Linked DNA regions of Homo sapiens: region 2 is linked to region 1. The links are contacts of gene promoters, found by promoter capture Hi-C in human tissues and cell types (Jung and others, 2019). All regions are on one chromosome and are shown on one strand. Each heading gives the region's core, a stretch centred on a gene start or on the middle of the fragment in contact. The rest is flanking DNA. Distances are from core to core; before and after follow the strand shown.

Region 1 (4,085 bases), core at 447-2,946:
CAAAAATTAACCAGGTGTGGTGGCGTGCACCTGTAGCCCCAGTTACTCCAGAGGCTGAGGTGGGAGAATCACTTGAACCCAGGAAGCGGAGGCTGCATTGAGCCAGGATCGCACCACTGCACTCCAGCCTGGGCAACAGAACGAGACTATGTCTCAAAAGAAAAAAAGACTAACTCGTGTCCAAAGCAGTTGGGGGCTTTCCTTCCTATCCTCTCCGACAAGTCATTAACTTTCCTCAGCTTTCATTTACACCTTTAAAATGTAATCTATGTGGAGGGACAAGAGGAGTGACTAAGGGATACGGGTTTGAGAGTGGCAGTGATAGTAAAACTTTTAAAATTGAAGCGGTAATAGTTGCACTACTCTGTGAATATACTGTATTTTTAAAACCGCACTGAATTGTGCACTTTAAATAGGTAAAGTGTATGCTATGTGAATTATATCTCAATAAAGCTGTTCTAAAAAAAATAAAAAATAAAAGCCAGTCTTGCAAGTGTGAACGTTTTCAGAGGTCCCCCAGGGCTTACTTACCGCATCCCAAACCACCGCTGCGACTCCCAGGTGTCTCCAGTCCTGCCGGATCTGGATCGTGTGGTTTGCAAAGGAAAAAGTTGCAAGAGGCTTGTGGAATTTCTGCAACCCAAATTCCGTGGTCTCCTCATAGGGCACGAGGGCCATTCCGCCTGCACCCCGCCCTCTGCTCAGACCTGCCGTGCAAAAGAATCCTGGGTGACGCTCTGGCCAAAAGATACATTATCTGTTCTTAACTAACTCCAAATGCTTTTAAGGTCGTTTACAAGTTCAAAAGAAAAAAAGAAACAGGTGGAGGAAGCCTTTGTCCAATTTCTTTTGCATGGCTCTTCCGAATCTGAGTGAGATTTGGCTCGGAATTTGTGTCAACGGATGTGTTTGGGGAAGAAGAAAAAAAAAGCCCAGAACATTCCAACTTCCGCAGAATACCCTATACACTGCACTGCTACCACTCCGTGAATTCAGAACTACACAAGCGGCGGAAGCGGCGGTGATCGCCCAGGGCCCCAGAGCAGCGCGGAAAGCAGCGCTTCCAACCCAGACCCGGGCGCCCGGACTGCAGCTGCAGCCAGCCGGGCGGCCCGGGTTCTTTCGCTACGGTTTCGCTACCCACCTCCCCTCCTCCATCGGCTGCTTCGATAGTGATAACAATGGGACAGAACCTGCCCTTAGACTGGGTGTTAGCGGTTTGATAAACCAGAAATACATGGTCGCCGCAGTTCCGTCTCCCCGACCCTGGAAGTGAGCGACACTGGGGGCCTCCAAGCGGCTCGCGGGGACAGCGGGGACTCGGAGGCCTCCCCGAACTCCCCCTATAGCTGCCCCCCACTCACCCCTCTCCCGGGACGACCAGTGCGCCCTTCCTGCCCGGGGGCCCCGGAGCTGCGGCAACCCTCCAGGGGTGAGAGGGAGACCAGGCGAGGGGGGTCACAGGGCCTCTTAGGATCCCCAGGCCATACGGGGCGCCGTGAGCTGCCCGGCGGAGCACCCAGGGCTCGCCCAGGCCGGGCTGAGGCGCCGCCACGCCGGTACTTACGGCCCGGGAGGCGGTCCCGCGTGGAGCGCGCGCTCCGCTTTCCCCGCCCCGGGCTGGCTGCGAAAACCGCCGGCCTTAAAGAGCCCGCGACGCGGGGGCGGGCGGCCCCGGCCCGGAGCCACGCATTTCCGGTCTCCCGGCACCCAGCCTCCGGCAGGTGCCCCCGGAGCTCACGGCGAGGGCGGGGCCGGGCCGTGGCGCGGTGGAGGAGTGACGTTGCGGGAGGGGGGACCGGGGCTTTCCCTCGTGCGTCCCCAGGGTACACGGACGACTTAATCCGTTTCCCCCGCCGCCGAGGGAGGCGCTGTGGGGGCGGGAGCAAGAGTGAGATCGGGGTGCCGAACTGCCGCGGGTGCACAGGGAGAGCATGGGGTGCCCTGGGCTCTCCTAGCGGGAGAGAAAAGCCACCCACCTGGCGCTGAATGTGCCTCTCGACCTTTTCTATCATGTGCTCCGCCGCTCTCTGCCTCTGACTTTGTCGCTTGCGCGTTGTGCCTGTTTTTTAAAGGTGGCGCGTTAGCGGATGATGGAGACAGCTCGCTCCGAAGAAGGCATGGTCACTCTAGTCCCCGCGTCTCCACGGTGGGGTCAGAAGCGGCGTAATAGCCCGCTTGGCGGCAATCGAGTGGAAAAGTCACAAAACCCTTTTCAACTAAAGCACAGTGGGGGAAGTGAACACGTGGCGCCCGAGTCCAAGTTTTTAAAGTGGGGCGGGGGTCGGCGGGCTCTGGCTGCAGTCGGAAGCGCGGAGCTCTGGGCGTGCGCTCGGCTCCAGCCCCGGCCCCAGGCGGCGCTGCAGACTCCAGTGCCCCAGTCTCCCTCCTCCCGATGCCAAGACGCACCTGCCCGTGAGGACCCACGCTGGACGTGGAAGGTGCCGAGGGCCTGGTACCCTGGCCGCAGGCCCTGGCAGAGCGCGCGGCTGGAGTGGGTCCATTGAGTGGGACCGTGCGGGGACCGGCATCCTCCCGGGGCAGGCTTCTTTTTCCTCCTGGGGCCCCTCGCCCCACACCGCCCGCTGCGCTCTCAGCGCGGCTGCACGTTAGAACCAGCTGGGGTAAACCTCCCTTACCAGTCCCCCGCCCCAAGAGCTGGCCATGGGAGGGGGCCCGAGCGCTGATTTTTTTGTTTGGTTTTTTGCTTTTGTTTTTGTTTTTGTTTTTGTTTTGAGACGGAGTCTCTCTCTGTCGCCCAGGCTGGAGTGCAAGGGCGCGAACTCGGCTCACTGCAGTCTCCGCCTTCCGGGTTCAAGCGATTCTCCTGCCTCATTCTCCCGTGTAGCTAGGATTACAGGCCTGCGCCAGCACGCCAGCTAATTTTTGTGGGATTTTGTTTGTTTGTTTGAGACGGAGTCTTGCTCTGTCGCCAGGCTGGAGTGCAGTGGCGCGATCTCGGCTCACTGCAGCCTCCACCTCCCGGGTTCAAGCAGTTCTCCTGCCTCAGCCTCCAAAGTAGCTGGAATTACAGGCGCCCGCCGCCACACCCGGCTTTTTTTGTGTTTTTAGTAGAGACGGGGCTTCACCATGTTGGCCAGGCTGGCCTTGAACTCCTGATCTCCGGTGATCCGCTCATCTCAGCCTCCCAAAATGCGGGATTACAGGTGTGAACCACTGCCACCTCCCCCACCCCTACCGCCCGAGCGCTGATTTTTTTTTTTTATTATTATTATTCAGAGTTTCGCTCTTGTCACCCAGGGTGGAGTGCAATGGCATGATCTCGGCTCACTGCAACCTCCGCCTCCCAGGTTCAAGGGATTCTCCTGCCTCAGCCTCCAAGTAGCTTAGATTAAGGGGCCCACCACCACGACTGGCTAATTTTTGTATTTTTAGTAGAGACGGGGGTTTCACCACGTTGGCCAGACTGGTCTCGAACTCATGACTAAAGGTGATCCACCCGCCTCGGCCTCGCAAAGTGCTGGGATCACAGGCATGAGCCACCGCGCCCGGCAAGCGCTGATATTTTTAAGAGCTCCCGGGGCCGCCCCCGGGAGCCTGCTTCCCGCGGTGGGAGCCTGGCGGGGGCCTGAACCTCTCTCTCCTGGCCTCTTCCGTCCTGTAGGCGGCGTCCCCGGCCTCCAGATTAATCTTCCATCGGAAGGTGGGGCCTGTGGCTTCGAGGGTAACCTCAGGGAACTTGGAAGACCACCAGTGAGGGACTTTTACCTCCTTTTTCGTTTTCTTTTTTGGTCCTCTCGCTTTCTCTCTTAGTATTTCCTTTCTCTCTTACCTCCTGCACTTGGTGTTTCTGCCTCTCAGCTTTCCCTTTATCGAAGACCTCCCTTTCTTGCCTTTATTTTCTCTCTGTCCCTTTTTGCAGGGAGAACCAGCAATGGGCACAAGAAAGAACATGTATGGGCTTTGGGGCCAGACAAATATGGAAAATTTAAATTATTCCTCTGACTCTTTAAATGGGATGACTTTGGGAAATTACTAAACCTCGCTAGATCCCAGGCTGCTCATCCCTGAAGCCTGGCATGGAGCCTTGGGCCCCTTCTGTTTTTTCTCCCTATTCTCCATCC
Region 2 (4,085 bases), core at 893-3,392, 560 kb after region 1:
TTCTTTTCCTTACCATTAAGATTCCAGCATAAGATGATAAAATCATAGCTTCTCGTTCTCTACGATTTGGATATATGGGTCTGCCATGGAGTGGTATTTTCCTAATGGGGAATAGGAAATACAAGTGGAAGATTTATTCTTGTTCTTTTTGATGCCTGCTAAGGTTGTGATGATAATCGATAAGTAATCTGCAATGGCTGTGTGCTATCTGCTTATTTATATTAATAAAATTGGTATGATTGTTCCTCCATCGGTGAAATCCACACTTTGAATTTTTAATCTTCCAATAATGGTGATGAATTTGGCCTCATCTATCCATGTTTTCACAGCAATCAAAGATTGGCAGACTGGCCACTGTGGTGGATGTTGATGGTTTTGCAAACCATTATCCTTTCCCTTTCTTGTGACAATTTGCTTTGGGGGAACTACCTAACCCCACTGTAAGCCTATATGCTTCTAGGGAAGCTGACTACACCCCTAGATTCCAAAGATGAAAAACACACTGTGGACTGAGCTGTCAGCGTATTCCACCTCCCCTGCGCTGCCACTGTCCAACCCTAGACAAGCCAGGTAACAGCCACTGAGACACAATTGGGTGATTAAAAAAAAATATATCCACCCTTCCCCGATAATGAAATGGGCTGAAACTAGGAATGGTGTTCACCCTGAGGAAATGGAGTCAGGAGGTAGATCCAGATGACATTGTTTGAGTTTTGAATTAAACCATGCCTAACACAGTCCTACCCATGGACTTTTCAGATACAAGGGCAATAAAATCTACTCCCCAGCTTTTTTGCTTAAGGCTGTTCAAATTGGATTTTCAATTGGATTTTCAAATTGGTCATTACAGCTAAACCCTAACTGTTACAACTCTCTAGGATCAGGTGTGTAGTCCAGAGCCATTGAGTAGAAAAAAAATAACAGGCCTCCAGAATAAGCTATTTGATCCTGTCCTCATTAGTTCTGTGTTCTTACCAATTGAGTGAGTCTGCCTGAACACTCCCTATACATGACAGAAAATGCTGGTAATCCCAGAAAGAAAATTATTCTGCGCTTCAAACAGCTCAGCTCAGATACATGTCTGCCTAAATGCTTAAGAATTTGTTTGGTAGTCCTTAGGAAAAGGTTACAGTCTTTACCCATAGAACTGACTGTTTTAAATCATGGCATGTACATAGTAAAGCAGTCATGTTTCTAAGACAGAGCATTCTTTATTTTTGAGATGGAGTCTCACTCTGTTGCCCAGGCTGGAGTGAAGTGGCACAATCTTGGCTCACTGCAACCTCTGCCTCCTGGGTTCAAGTGATTCTCCTCTCCTGCCTCAGCCTCCTGAGTACAGGTGTGCGCCACCACGCTAGGCGAATTTTTGTATTTTTAATAGAGGCGAGGTTTTACCATATTGTCCAGGTTGGTCTTGAACTCCTGGCTTCAAGTAATGAGTCTGCCTCAGCCTCCCAGAGTGCTGGGATTACAGGCCTGAGCCACCGCGCCCGGCCCCTTAAGACACAACATTCTGTGCAAGAAAGTCTTTCATCTCACTGAAGTCAATTAGTATAGAGATGCAAAACATGGAAACATGTAACTTCTTCAAGTTGGCAACTGTTCAGGTTCCTCAGGTGTCTCGTTGAAGAGGGATATTCACCCAGTAGTGTTTTCAAATCAAAGTGCCTCATGATGGAAGATGTTAGGGCTGGAACTTCCTCTATCATTAATCATAGGCACAAATTAAAGAGGAAAGCAACAAACCTACTTCAACTTACAGTTCCTCCCACTCCAGCCAAGTTAAGTCTTCTGAGGGATCCAGCCATTGCAAAGCAACACTGATGGCCAAGTCATAGTGTGCCTGGGAGCAGGAAGCACAGAGAGCAAAGAAACAGGCTTAGACATTGGCCGAAGTACTCCCTGGACCCAATGACAATGGGACTGCTAAGCCTATTCTAGTCTGTCATGTCCAAAATGGGAAGGATCATTAGCTTTAATAACCTGATGCTCGGCCAGATTTTTTTTTTTTTTTCTGAGACCTCGCCTCACAGGGATGAATCAGCCAGAAATATTTTGGGATCTTGAGACATTAAATTTATTTCCACTAGAGCAGTTATCTGATTTCTGTGATTTGGAAAAGAAAGGAGAGATCAGTGAAGAATAATAAACTTGGAATCAGAAAATCTGGGCTCAAATCTAGGTATTGCCAACAACTCACGGAATATTCTTAGGTGAGTAACTGATGCTTTCTGGGCCTCAGTTTCCCTAAATTTTAACATAGTAAAAGGTAAGGGTGGGGGAACAGGGCTGCAGGGAACAATTTCTGATTCTGTGAGTAGAATGTCAGAAATGTGCTTCCAGGGGTACAGGGGCAGTGTGGTGGGAATTTGGAGGGATGGGCCGTTTTATGTCTACCTGGGGAGATAGCTAGAATCCCAAGAAGCTTCAGAGAGGGAAGCTGCATTGGAGCTGGGGCTTGTGGGATGAGAATGTCTACAGATGGGGAAGGAAATCACAGGTAGAGGAACTAGCATGAGGCAAGGACGGAGCGGGCGGGGAAGGGGGCAGACCTGAGTAAGTGACTTGCTGAGAGTTTCACACGCACGTATAGTAAAAAGCTGAGAACCAATGCGGAGGCTTATTTTTATCATGGTGACCACCTTTTCCTAGTAATTCCTAAGAGTTCTTGTTCAGTAAGCATATTTACCATTTGTCTATCAAAATATTCCTTCTCTCCTTTCAGTCCCCACACACAGAAAACGGAAGATTGGTTTTGTTTTTAATTTTTGTAGAGGCGTTCTGAAGTTTTAACATTTTTAAACGGTGGAATTATTTCTTCCAGGGACTGAACCAAACTGAACAGTGAACCTAAATGAATAAATAAACAGGAAGAATGGGACCATGACCAAATGTTGCAACCGGATCCAAAGTTTGATGCCTTGGCATCACTTGTTTGGTCATTTGAAATGCAAATTCCTAGGCCGCGGGGGCGCCCCCCTCACCCCCGCCCCCCTTCACCTCCTGAATCAAAACAGCCTTGTAATACGACCTCATTAAAGTTTGAGAAGCACTGCTCTAATCTACTTAATTTCTCTGTTTAATATGTGTACACAGAGAATAAGGCTTAACTATTTCCTTAGCTCCAGGGTAGTTTTGAAAGCCAGTGAGCCTGGCTCTACTTTAGTCGGAGAAGAAGAGGAGAGGGGAGTGGAGGGAGAGAGTCTTTTTTATTAGTGTAAGGATAGTAAATGGGCAGTGAAAAAACTGAGGGTTTGCTAATTTCTTTTGAGTTAGATCTTTATATGGTTTCTTCCTCAATTTCTGTGACGTGAACTTTCAGATCCTGAGTCTGGGCTTCGAAATAAATAACACCAAGGATTTTTAGGGTTACTTAATTTATTTGGTTTTCTCTCACTAATGCAAATGGTAAAGAAATTATTTTGAGAACTACATGATAGCTAATTTTGTCAAACTCTTAACTCCACAGACGTAACATTTTGCCTGGCATTAATTTTGATTTTTAATCTTCTTTCCTAATAGCAAATAACTCTCATGATTTTTATTTTCTCATTCTCTTTGCTTTCTGGTTAGTGGGTTGAAATGACCATATGAACAATCTCAGGGTGAGGGGAAGATGAGGAAGAGGACATTTGGGGGATGGGTGTCAATATTAGCCTTGTTTATTGTATAAATAAGATCCTTTTTCTGTCTCTTTAATACACATATAACACAAATATGACTCGCATCAGCGTGCCTTTCTTTACCATATCATCTAGAAAGGTGAGTTGCCGTCTTCCTTTTGGGTCAAATTCATTTTCCCGAAGTCTGATGCCAATATAATCTCCCCTTAAAAGCAAGAGAGCAGCATTGAACCATTGGAGTGACACGGGCTCAGTCTGCAGAAAAAGGCTTTTTTTTTTCCCATCCCTCCCTCCCCCACCAAAATACAAGAGAATTTGCAGATGCTCTGGTAGCTGAGTTAATATTCGGTTTTGGTTTACACGACAATTCTACAATGCTGCAGTTTAAAATGTCTAACCATAATTAACTGAAATAACATTTATCTAAAAATTAAACTCAATTGGAACAGAATTTACAGGAAA

Evidence for each region. The method cuts DNA at HindIII sites, captures the fragments that hold promoters and counts their contacts. A contact is called where the count stands out against the background at its distance.
Region 2: a contact is called between a fragment that was not itself captured here and the fragment with the promoter of METTL21A in region 1, in 1 of the 25 tissues and cell types used here (neural progenitor cells).

The regions. Positions count from the first base shown.
Region 1 is chr2:207,623,698-207,627,782 of GRCh38, forward strand. It overlaps METTL21A (methyltransferase 21A, HSPA lysine), which reads right to left and starts at 1,697. Exons shown (of 4, transcript NM_001127395.5): 1 at 1,365-1,697; 2 at 532-707. The coding sequence starts at 678. RefSeq lists a silencer at 1,293-1,892 and enhancers at 2,163-2,867, 2,868-3,570. The HindIII fragment of the contact is 12,030 bases long and covers 1-4,085 here.
Region 2 is chr2:208,181,205-208,185,289 of GRCh38, forward strand. C2orf80 (chromosome 2 open reading frame 80) reads right to left here. Exons shown (of 9, transcript NM_001099334.3): 3 at 3,747-3,828; 4 at 1,761-1,843; 5 at 14-101. Among named protein-coding and RNA genes, the nearest start is that of C2orf80, 6.8 kb to the right of the region's middle. The HindIII fragment of the contact is 7,429 bases long and covers 1-4,085 here.